Linked DNA regions of Homo sapiens: all the other regions are linked to region 4. The links are contacts of gene promoters, found by promoter capture Hi-C in blood cells and fetal thymus (Javierre and others, 2016). All regions are on one chromosome and are shown on one strand. Each heading gives the region's core, a stretch centred on a gene start or on the middle of the fragment in contact. The rest is flanking DNA. Distances are from core to core; before and after follow the strand shown. Region 1 holds the start of ZNF135 (zinc finger protein 135). Region 2 holds the start of ZNF8 (zinc finger protein 8). Region 3 has its middle 9.1 kb from the start of ZSCAN18. Region 4 holds the start of ZNF471 (zinc finger protein 471).

Region 1 (2,700 bases), core at 8-2,507, 1.6 Mb before region 4:
GCGCAGAGCATGCTAAGGCCTTCAACTTCAGACTGCAGAGCCGGGGCACCTACAATTTTCTGACATCACCCAGCCTCAGGTATGCAATGACGGCCGCACAAACATAAAGCCCACTCAGACAGGGACCCGTGCCCGCTGACCTCCAGCGCGGCGTGGGCGGTCCTTTCAGAGGCAGGCTGTGGTTGGGGAGCTTGGCGCGGACTTTAGGAGGCCGGGTGTGCAGGTAGAGGCCGGACACGAGTAGAGGCTAGATGTGCAAATAGAGGCCGGGCACGAGTAGAGGCCGGGCACCAGTAGAGGCCAGGTGCGCGAGTAGAGGCCAGTTGTGCGAGTAGAGGCCGGGCACGAGTAGGGGCCGGGCACGCAAGTAGGGGCCGGGCACAAGGAGGAGGCTGAGCGCGAGTAGGGACGGGGTGCAAAGAGGAGGCCGGGCGTGAGAAGGCCGCGCGCGAGGAGGCCGGGCACGAGGTGGAGGACACGCGCAAGGAGGCCGAGATTCTCACCGGGTCTGTGGAGACGCGCACCCCAGGGGTCATGCCCTGGCTTCTGGCAGGAACGGCTGGCCCTGCTCTGTGGGAAAGGGGAGGTGAGCAGCTGGGGCAGGCAGAGGCGGTGCTCAGGTCCCCAAGCCGGGGAACTGCGCCAGAGCCTGGGGAGCTCCGCGGAGAGCCGTCCAGGGCCCCGCGTACCCGTTTAAGCGCCTGCTGTGTGTGGGGCGGCCCTCCGCTCGGAGAAGGGCAGCCTAGGGTTTTCCCGCCTGTCTGAGGGAAGCTGAAGGCCTGGCGGGTGCGGACACATATCTGCTGCGCAGACTCTGAGCCTTAACGCTACAGTGACAAGGGCCGGGTGGTTGCGGTCCCCTGGCCCTGGGCACTATGCCTCAGTTTCTCTCTTCCATCAACAAAGGTGGCGGCCCAGTGCCCGGTGTGGGGCAGAGGTGGGGCCAGGGGCGGGGCGCGCGTTCCCTCAGGGGCCGTCGGAGCAGCTCCTGTCCAGCTGGGCGTTGGGCCCCGCCCTCCTCTCAGACTAGGGATGCCCCGCAAAGCCTGCCCCCGCCAGCCCCGAAACGGCCTTCCCCAGGCCCCGGGCAGCAAAACGGACTCCACACAGACGCGCGCTGCTGGAAACTCGCCCCGCCAGGGCCTCAGGAAGATCCCCGGACCCCCCGCACCCGGCCCGGCCCGGCCCGGCCTGGCCTCCCCTCCCCCTCCTCGCCGGCCTAGCTCACCCTCCTGACTGCGAGACAAAGGCCGCGGCACCGGCAGCCGACACTGCGCCGGCGCGAGCCTAACTCCATTTCCCAGAGAGCCGCGCGCGCATTTCCGGCCGCCCTCCCCCACCTCGCTCTCGCCCTTGGCGTTCGTGAGCTCTCAGTGCTGCTGGAGCTGGAGTGACTGGGCCTGGTGAAACAGGGCGCGCGGGGTGCCTGGGCATCAACGCGGGATAAGTGCCGCTTGGAACGCCGTGAGCTCCCGGCGCGACCACACGGGCTTTCGTGTTGGAAACTCTACCGTCAGTTTTACTGCTGCAAACAAAGCAATGATTTTTTCAAAACACATACTTTCAACCAAAACATTCACCAAGATCGCACACACGGGAGTCTTTGCATTTTCCACACTGAGGCAGCCATGGAGACTTCACACTGTATTTATTACATGGTTATAAGGAACATCACGTGCAAGACACTAACAATTATGACGACTTTGGACATTGCTAGGTAATTGTCAAAATTGTGCATTTGAACAGCAGCAAAATATTCAAAGCTGGTGTGCCCTCGCTGACACGAAATGAATTGTCATTTTCTGAACATTCACCAAAGCCTGCCAGGCGCTAGGCCTAGGTTCAGCAGCACACAATAGTGAAGCCCCCATTCAAGCGGGCTTCGTTTCACCAGCGTACGTCACACGTCCGTGGAGCAGCGAGACCAGAGGAGCTGGGAAAGCCAGGGCTGAGCCTTGTGCTTTTGCCCTTTTAAGGGAGGACAGATTAATTCCAATCAGCCTGGGCTTGGGAGCTGTATTTGAAGCAGAGGAAAAGTTTTAAGACGGGCATTTTTTTTTCTTTGACTGAAACAACTCTGAAAACAGCAGAGAACACAATACGAATTCTCGTACCACACACAGACACTTGCAAAGATTTGGCTGGTTAACACACAAGTTAAGACTTTAAATTTCATAAGCCCTAAAACAGTGGCAATTATGAAGAGATATAATGGCTCAAAATCATAATGCACTGATGTAAACAAAGCAAAGGCAAGCTTCTTGGCTTTTAAGGGCGTCCTGTACATTCCAAGTACTGTAAAGCCCCACATTTGTGACCGTCGCACTGAAAGCCAGCCTGCTTTTCACTCTACAGCAGTAAAGAGGCTTTCCATTATACATAAAATGCCGTTTTTCAGTTCTCGAACTCACAAACCCAAATGCCACAAAACATCTTTTTGTGTATTTTTTCTTTCACAAAATGTATACTCTTGCCCCCCACCCCCACCCCCAACCGTTTCCTTTTACTGGATCAAAAGGTATGAACACACAACTCATGGTGAAGTCTTTTTCCCAAGCGGTCTGATAGTCCTGGTGAGAAGCTGTCAGTGGTGCCACACTGAGCCTGCTCAGCCCTGATGGTGGCCAGGCGGCCCTGCCCAGCTCCCTCAAACTTGCCCCTCTGTTTCCTCCCTCAGACCTTCTGATCCTCTGTTTTTCT
Region 2 (2,700 bases), core at 70-2,569, 1.8 Mb before region 4:
CTGGAGGTGGATCCTCCAGACTCAGGTCTCAGGTGACAACAGCTATGCTGACATCTTCACTGTAACTTCATGGGCCTGAACCAGAACCACCAGCTAGGACATTCCATTACTCCTGTCAGAACTCGTGAGATATTTATTGTTGTTCCAGGTCACGAAGTTTTGAGTTACACAGCAACAGGTAACTAATACACTTTCTCTCAAGCCTTTCTTACGACTCATTCCTTGTCCCCCATCCACAGCAAGAACAAAATAAAACGTGGTAGCATTTCATGCAAATTTGGAGCAACACACATCTGAAAACCTGCAACCTAAGATTATCAAGTCTCACTTTGTGTACCAAATCTGAAATAATGCAAATCCCCATGAACAAACCAACGACAAAAAATAAAAAAAAGTATAATTTCAAAGTTGCAGAGCTTGAGGAAGGATAATTATTGTTGTTTCCTGCCACGCGAGGCAGCTTTATGGAGAACACAGGCCGCAACCACTTTGTCTAGAAAGTGGAGCTCTGATGGCCAGATGGCCCTGCAAACACTGACCGCCCTGCACTGCAGTTCTCCCACAGTCTCGCAGGGGACGACCCTGGTGGTCACTCTCATCACACTCAGTGCGTGGTGACCCATCATTGCCCCCAAGAGGTTGTGCCCAAGCCCCAGGGCAGGGGCTCCGCGGTGCTGGGGTCCCGGTGGGTGTCCGCTGACTCCACGCGTTAAAGCATCTCTATTCGATGATTCTTGCCATCTGGGCACCCGGCCAACGCTACAATTACTGTTATCAGTCAACACGAGGACAGACCTTCCTGGAATGGGCAAGGGTGTCGGCGGGGCGGAGCAGAACGCAGGAGATGGGCCTGCTCGATTCTCTCGGGAATGACCGACCCCAGCCCTGGGGAGGACAGAGCCGCGTGGAGCATGCGCATTCGGGGGCCAGGCGCCTGGTTGGAATCCCGGCCCCCTCTCTGACCAGCCAGGACGGTCACCACGCCCCGACCCGCGTCTGAGTTTCCCCACGTGTCAAGGGCATTAACAGCGGTGCCGCTCTCATCGCGCCGCGAGGTGAAAGGGTCAGTCTGCGCGGGAGACGCTTGCCCGGAGCCCGCCGCCGTCGTTATTGTTGTTATTGTTACCTGAAGCCGGGCCGCCGGCGGCCCCACAGACATCACTCCCGCTACCCCTTCGTCCTCGGGGTCCATGCTGGATCGCCCAGTGAAGGACAGCGCCTGAGGTGATCCCCAGACCAGAGAGGCACTCCAGCCAAAGGGACCACCCGACTCGCCGAACGCCGGACAATGGCGGCCGCACCGGCGACGCGGCGACTACAACTCCCAGTAGGCCGTGCGGCGAACCACAGCCCTCGGCCAATGGGAGTCTCCGCTGGTCTGGCCTTCGACCAATGGAAGCATTATGGCCGATGGCCAATGGGAGCCCCCACCCGCTGGCCTCTGGCCAATGGGAGCACTCAGCTAAGGCTGGTGGGGGCGGTGTTGCTCGGGGCTGCGATGCCCCTTAGGTTGCGGGCAACCAGAGGCCTCACTCGTGGGCAGGAAGCAAGGGCGGACCCCGAGAGATGACTGATTGTGGGGGTGGGGACCGTCTGCTCCTCCTAATGGCTGGGGACCGTGCACGTCTGCGCGGGCCGGACCTGCTCTTCTCGGGAACTTGCGCGGGAGGAGGCCCGGAGCTGCGCCGCTTTACCCTCTGCTCCCCGGTGCCTAAAACGCACACGCATCAAAGTCACAGGACGAGTTAGAGGTTTGTTCATATAAAAGACTTTGGGCTTAGCGGCTGGAAGCGGGGAGGCTGGGAGCGGTGGTTGTGTTACAGGAAAGGGGTCCGATTCAGACCCCAAGGGAGGGTTCTTGGATCTCGCGCAAGAAAAAATTCAGGGCGAGTCCGCAGTGCAAAGTAAAAGCAAGTTTGTTGAGAAAGTAAAGTTGTGAAACAGCTACCCCATAGACAGTAGGACGTTCCTGAAAGTAAGAGGAACGTATGCACCCTAGGTACAATGCTTGTGTATATTTGGGCTAAAAATAGATTTTGGGGAGATGTGCTCTGCTACAAGGGTTTGTGAAAAAGGATTAATTTTCTTACTGTATTTTTCAAGAATCGATATTATTTTTAAAGCAAAATTAGGAATGCCTTTGTTCTCTAGATACCGGGATATCTGGACACTCCCAAGTCTGGGTCTGTTTTAGTACCCATTATTAATTTGTTCCCTTAACCGTAAACATCTAGAGGTTAGGAATACCTACTTTTCTGGGAATGCAGCCCAGCCTCATTTTCCTAGCCCTCACTCAAAATGGAGTCGCTCTGGGTCGAATGCCTCTGACAGCCCTATTGCTTCTCCCTGTGGGTGTTCACTTTGTGATGTGTCTTTTTCTGTGGGTCTGTTGTAGTCCATTAAAATGTTTATTAAAGGTCGGGCGCGGTGGCTAACGCCTATAATCCCAGCACTTTGGGAAGTCGAGGCGGGTGGATCACGATGTCAGGAGCTCGAGACCAACCTGGCCAATATGGTGAAACCCCGTCTCTACTAAAAATACAAAAATTAGCCCGGCGTGGTGGCGGGCACCTGTAGTCCCAGCTTCTCGGGAGGCTGAGGCAGGAGAATCGCTTGAACCTGGGAGGCGGAGGTTGCCGTGAGCCGAGGTCAGGCCACTGCACTCCAGCCTGGGTGACAGAGCAAGACTCCGTCTCAAAA
Region 3 (2,700 bases), core at 23-2,522, 1.6 Mb before region 4:
CGAAATCTCATTTCATCAGTCACCAGAGGACTCATACTGGAGAGAGCCCTTATACCTGTAATGACTGTGGAAAATCCCTCTCTAAGAATTACAACCTGATTGTACATCAAAAAATCCACACAGGAGAGAAATCCTATAAATGCAAGAAGTGGGAAAGCCTTCAGTGCTGGCTCCACCTTTACCAAGCATGAGAAAACCCACATAGGAAAGAAGCCCTGTGAAAGGAATTGGTATGGGAAGACCTTCAGCTGCCACTCTTCCCTTGTTTTGCATTTCAGAAGTCATACTGTGGAAAAACTATTCGAATGTAATGAATGTGAAAAATCCTTTTCTGATGTCTCCAACCTTATTGTCCATCTGAGAATTCACATGTGAGGGGAGCCCTATGTATGTACTGGGTGTAGAAAGGCCTTCATTGATCACACATAACTTATTAAACATGGGAGAATTCACATTGGAAAGAGACCCTATATGTGTATGGAGTGTGAAAAATTCTCCAACCACAACAGTCAGCTCTTTTGCATCAAAAAAATCATTCTGGAAAGAAATCTCATGAGTTAAACAATGTGAAAAAATCTTTCACTGAGATTATGTACCTCATCAGGCACAAGAGGATTCATACTGGTGAGAAGGTCTGTGGCTGTAACCAGTGTCAAACTTTTCAGGAACATCGCGGGCCTCATCTGGCACCAGAGGACTCATACTGGTGAGAAGCCCTACGAGTGTAATCGGTGTGGCAAAGCCTTCAGGGACAGCTCCTGTCTGACCAAGCACAAGAAGGTACATGCTCAGGCGACCTTGTGCCAGTGTGTCTAGTGTGGGAAAGTTTTCCCAAGTATCTGTGCTCTCGCTAGAAACCAGAGTTGACACATTGGACTGAGACCTATGGGGATTCAGTGAGCATCTGTGGCAGTGACTGATCTGATTTTCTTTGCCTCCTCTTTGTCAGAGACTTCATGTTGAAGAGTTTATGTTGTTTGAAAGTAACAAATATGTTTTTCCATCTATAAATGGAAGAAAAAATCCTGGATGACAGCACATGTGTTTACCGCATGGTGCACTCAATATTTTATTTTATTTTTGAGACAGAGTTTCACTCTTGTCACCCAGGCTGCAGTGCAGTAGTGTGATCTCAGCTCCCTGCAGCCTCTGCCTCTTGGGTTCAAGCGATTCTCCTTCCTCAAACTCCTGAGCAAGTAGCTGGGATTACAGGTACCCACCATCACACTAATTGTTTTGTATTTTTTTTAGTAGAGATAGGGTTTCACCATGTTGGTCAGGCTGGTCTTGAACTCCTGACCTGAAGTGATCTGCCCACCTTGGCCTCCCAAAAGTGATGAGATTACAGGCATGAGCCACCATGCCCGGCCTGTGCTGAATATTTTAAACCCACTGTTGAGACTTCCTCAGAATAAAGATTCCTTTCAAAATATGGCTGCTTGTTGACAAGAGCTGTGATGAAGATGTACAGGGAGATGAATGTTGTTCTCACACCTGCTAACACAACATGTATTCTGCAGCCCATCATAGATCAGGAGTAATTTTGACTTTCCAGTCTCATTATTCAAGAACAGATGTCTTGGCCAGGCACGGTGGCTCACGCCTGTAATCCCAGCACTTTGGGAGGCCAAGGTGGGCAGATCACGAGGTCAGGATTTCGAGACAAGCCTGACCAACATGCTGAAACCTCATCTCTACTAAAAATACAAAAAAAAATTAGCCAGGCGTGATGGTGCACACCTGTAATCCCAGCTACTCAGGAGACTGAGGCAGGAGAATTGCCTGAAGCTGGGAGGCAGAGGTTGCAGTGAGCAGAGATCGAGCCACTGCACTGCAGCCTGGGAAACAGAAGGAGGCTCCATTTCAAAAAAAAACAAAAAAACAAAAAAAACAGATGTCTTTTTTTCTTTCTTTCTTTTTTTTTTTTTTTTTTTTTTTTTGAGACGGAGTCTCGCTCTGTCGCCCAGGCTGGAGTGCAGTGGCGGGATCTCGGCTCACTGCAAGCTCCGCCTCCCGGGTTCACGCCATTCTCCTGCCTCAGCCTCCCAAGTAGCTGGGACTACAGGCGCCCGCCACTACGCCCGGCTAATTTTTTTTGTATTTTTAGTAGAGACGGGGTTTCACCGTTTTAGCCGGGATGGTCTCGATCTCCTGACCTCGTGATCCGCCCGCCTCGGCCTCCCAAAGTGCTGGGATTACAGGCGTGAGCCACCGCGCCCAGCCAGATGTCTTTTTTTCTTTTGAGACATGGTCTCATTCTGTTGCCCAGGTTGGAGTGCAGTGCTGCAACCATGGCTCGCTGCAGCCTCGACCTCTAGGCTCAAGTTGTCCTCTCACCTTAGCCTCCTACATAGCTGGAACTACCAGCATGCACCACCACGCCTGGCTAATTTTTTTTATGTTTTGTAGAGACGGCATCTCACCATATTGCTCAAGCTGGTCTTGAACTCCTGTGCCGAAGTGATCCTCTTGCCTCATCCTGACAAAGTGCTAGTATTACAGGTGTGAGCCATTGTGCCTGGCCTAGAATGCTCTTAATGGCATCTAGCATAGTGAATCATTTCCAGAAGGTTTTTAATTTACTTTCCCTGGATCCATCCAAGGAATCATTACTATCTATGGCAGCTATAGCCTTACAAAATACATACCTTTTTTTTTCTTTTTTGATAAGGATTCTCACTCTGTTGCCTCGGCTAGAGT
Region 4 (2,700 bases), core at 110-2,609:
CCTGTGGCTCCCTTTCCTTTCCCTGGAGATTGAGGGATGGGGCAGGTAATCCCAACCCTCTAATCCTGCCTAGATTGTTCTTGTGACCATCCCTTACCGTGATCAACCTACAGGCTGCCAGCCCACCAATCATTAGCATGCAAAAAGACACTTAATACTTTGGAGATTCCAAGGATCTTAGAAGTCGTAAGCCAGGAAACATAACTTTGTCCTATACTTTGATCGCCTCCCTCTCTCTCACAAACTCATAACAACATAACCTAGTCTCACTCTTTGGACTCTCACAGTTTAGTCTCTTTCTCTCTCTCATACACACACACCAGCCTCTCAAGGAGCCTCACATAATGACTGGTCTTTCACACACAGCCACGTGCTCATCTCTCTCACACTCACTGGTCTCACGCTATGTTGTCTCTCACACACGAACACACCCTGGTCTCACACTCTGGTCTCTCTCAGTCTGTCAGACACACATAACACGGCCTCACACACTGACGGGTCTTTCACCCAAAACACCCATTTCTCACACTCACTGGTCTCCCTTTCACACATTAACATACCACAGTCTCACACTCTGTTCTTGCACAGTCTAGTCTCGCATACATGGTGATTCTTCTCTCTCTCGAACACACACCGGCCTCTCATTGAGCCTCACCCACCGACCGACCGGCCTTTCACACACAGGCACACGCCCATCTCTCACACTCACTGGTCTCTCACACTCCATCCAGCCCGTCTCACTCTCTCACACGAATACATCCTGGTCTCACGCTCTGGACACCTGGTCTGTTACACACTTACACACCCACACACCTCGCAACCTCTCACTGAGCTTCACACGCTCTCTTTCAAATGCAGGCACATCCCTATCTCTCTCACACTCACTGGTCTCTCACACTGGCCCGTCTCGCTCTGTCACACACGAACATACCCTGGTCTCACACTGGACTCTCGGTCTGTCACACACACACACACACACACACAGAAACCACACCCTCTCACGGAGCCTCACACTCTGACAGATCTTTTACACACAGGCACACCCCCATCTCTCCCACAGCTCACTCCAGTGGTCCCGCCGCCCCAAGCCGCCCCGAACGCCCAGCAGCCCCGAGCCGCGGCCTCCGCCCCGCAGACTCGAGTACGCGCGCCCCGCTGGCCTCTGGGAAATGTAGTCGTCCTGGGGACAGAGGACGCGGCTGGGCCTTCGCGACCCGCGTCGGAGCCGCCCGCCTCGCCTGCCCTTCCTGGCCCAGCCCTCGAGCTCGGACTCCCAAACCACCCAAAACAAACCCCCGGCCTCGTCTGGCACCCAGACGCTCTCATCCGAAGGACTCCGTGAGTCGACGCTGGAACCCCCCATCGCGCAGGCGCCAGCCTCTCTCCAGGGGTCGGACGAGAGGGGCGGAGACAAGGCGTGGCCTAGTGTTGAGGGGATTGTCCTCGGGCTGCTGAAGGAGTGAGAGGGACCTTAGAGCAGAGCGGGCGGTGCCTGCGCAGTGCGTGATTACGCGAGCCGGGCGTGGCCCAGGGTTCCGGCGGGTAAGAGCAGGAGTGTGCGCAGGCGCAAAGATTGCGCTCTCCCCCTCTCCTCGCCTAGAGACCAGAAGCGTCCCTAGTTACTAGTTCCTGGGGCCTGGGAGGGAAACGCGCGACGGCTGAGCCTTCGGTGTGAGTACGCGTGGGGCTTTGTGACGCTGTCTGTGCCTCTGTGATCGCGATGTCATTCGGAGCGCGGCCTTCTGTGCCAGTCCGTGGGAGTGTCATTATCTTTCTGTGTTAAGCTTATTTTGGAATAAGACAGCGACGAGGAACCCCGACCGTGTTGTGACTCTGGCGAATTAATACCTCTTTCAGCTGCAAATGGGAATGTCACTGATCAGAGGCAGTGAATAACACGACGTTTTTGGAACCAATCTGCTAGGCTTGAACCGCGTTCAGCCCCTTAACAAAATGGAAATGGTCCCCGTTTTAGGGGACTAGCCCTGACTAGGAGAACTGTAGAATTAGTATTGGAAGGTGAGACAAATAAGGAAAAGCAATTCAGGGGGATACAGCAGAGAAAAAAAAATCCCTGTCCTCTTATTATGTAATTTACTTTGAAGCGGAGAGAGACAAGCCACAAATTCATGAGTTAGATAAACAGTCTGATGAACAGTAAAAAGGGCTATGGAGAAATATAACTCAGAGAAGGTTGTATCGTATACATTTTTTCTATTGTCTCTTATAATGTCTTAACATGTCAAAAAAACCTGTCTGCAGCAGACACCAGCCAGGTGACCGCTACTCCAATTCAATTCTGACGCTACCTGGAAAACATCAGATCCTACAGGTTAGACAGCTCAGTCCCAAAAGACTGTCCCCCACTTCCCATGCCAATTCCAAACTCCAGATTGTTGTACCTGTGTTTCAGAGAGATGTGCTATAAATTGGGGCTCCCACAGCCGGCTCCTTGGGTTCCATTAGTTTGCTAGAGCAGCTCACAGAACTCAAGGAAACACTTATGTTTACTGGTTTATTATAAAAGATATTTTAAAGGATACAAATAGCCAGATGAAGAGACATGTAGGGCAAGGTCCGAGAGAATCCCTAGTGCAGGAACTTCTGTGCCCGTGGAGTTGGGGTGCACCACCCTCCCAGCACGAGGATGTGTTTTTGTCTACCTTCTTGGAAGCCGCTTGAACTCAGGCCTTTTCGGTT

What was found. Contacts are between HindIII fragments. The CHiCAGO score rates a contact against its expected background, and 5 or more counts as called.
Region 1: the fragment with the promoter of ZNF135 here is called in contact with the fragment with the promoter of ZNF471 in region 4 in 2 of 17 cell types (activated CD4 T cells and non-activated CD4 T cells); the score reaches 6.6 in activated CD4 T cells.
Region 2: the fragment with the promoter of ZNF8 here is called in contact with the fragment with the promoter of ZNF471 in region 4 in 1 of 17 cell types (M1 macrophages); the score reaches 5.2 in M1 macrophages.
Region 3: a contact is called between a fragment that was not itself captured here and the fragment with the promoter of ZNF471 in region 4, in 2 of 17 cell types (erythroblasts and activated CD4 T cells). The highest score is 5.8, in erythroblasts.

The regions. Positions count from the first base shown.
Region 1 is chr19:58,057,839-58,060,538 of GRCh38, reverse strand. ZNF135 (zinc finger protein 135) reads right to left here and starts at 1,257. Exons shown (of 5, transcript NM_001289401.2): 1 at 1,229-1,257; 2 at 504-570. The coding sequence starts at 536. The HindIII fragment of the contact is 3,956 bases long and covers 1-2,259 here.
Region 2 is chr19:58,277,574-58,280,273 of GRCh38, reverse strand. It overlaps ZNF8 (zinc finger protein 8), which reads right to left and starts at 1,319. Exons shown (of 4, transcript NM_021089.3): 1 at 1,127-1,319. The coding sequence starts at 1,192. ZNF8-DT (ZNF8 divergent transcript) reads left to right here and starts at 1,532. Exons shown (of 3, transcript NR_187495.1): 1 at 1,532-1,751. It overlaps ZNF8-ERVK3-1 (ZNF8-ERVK3-1 readthrough (NMD candidate)), which reads right to left and starts at 1,308. Exons shown (of 7, transcript NR_144447.1): 1 at 1-1,308. RefSeq lists enhancers at 724-773, 1,194-1,243. The HindIII fragment of the contact is 22,069 bases long and covers 1-2,700 here.
Region 3 is chr19:58,105,944-58,108,643 of GRCh38, reverse strand. It overlaps a transcript of ZSCAN18 not described here. Among named protein-coding and RNA genes, the nearest start is that of ZSCAN18, 9.1 kb to the right of the region's middle. The HindIII fragment of the contact is 4,764 bases long and covers 1-2,700 here.
Region 4 is chr19:56,506,514-56,509,213 of GRCh38, reverse strand. ZNF471 (zinc finger protein 471) reads right to left here and starts at 1,359. Exons shown (of 5, transcript NM_020813.4): 1 at 1,294-1,359. The HindIII fragment of the contact is 1,838 bases long and covers 1-1,786 here.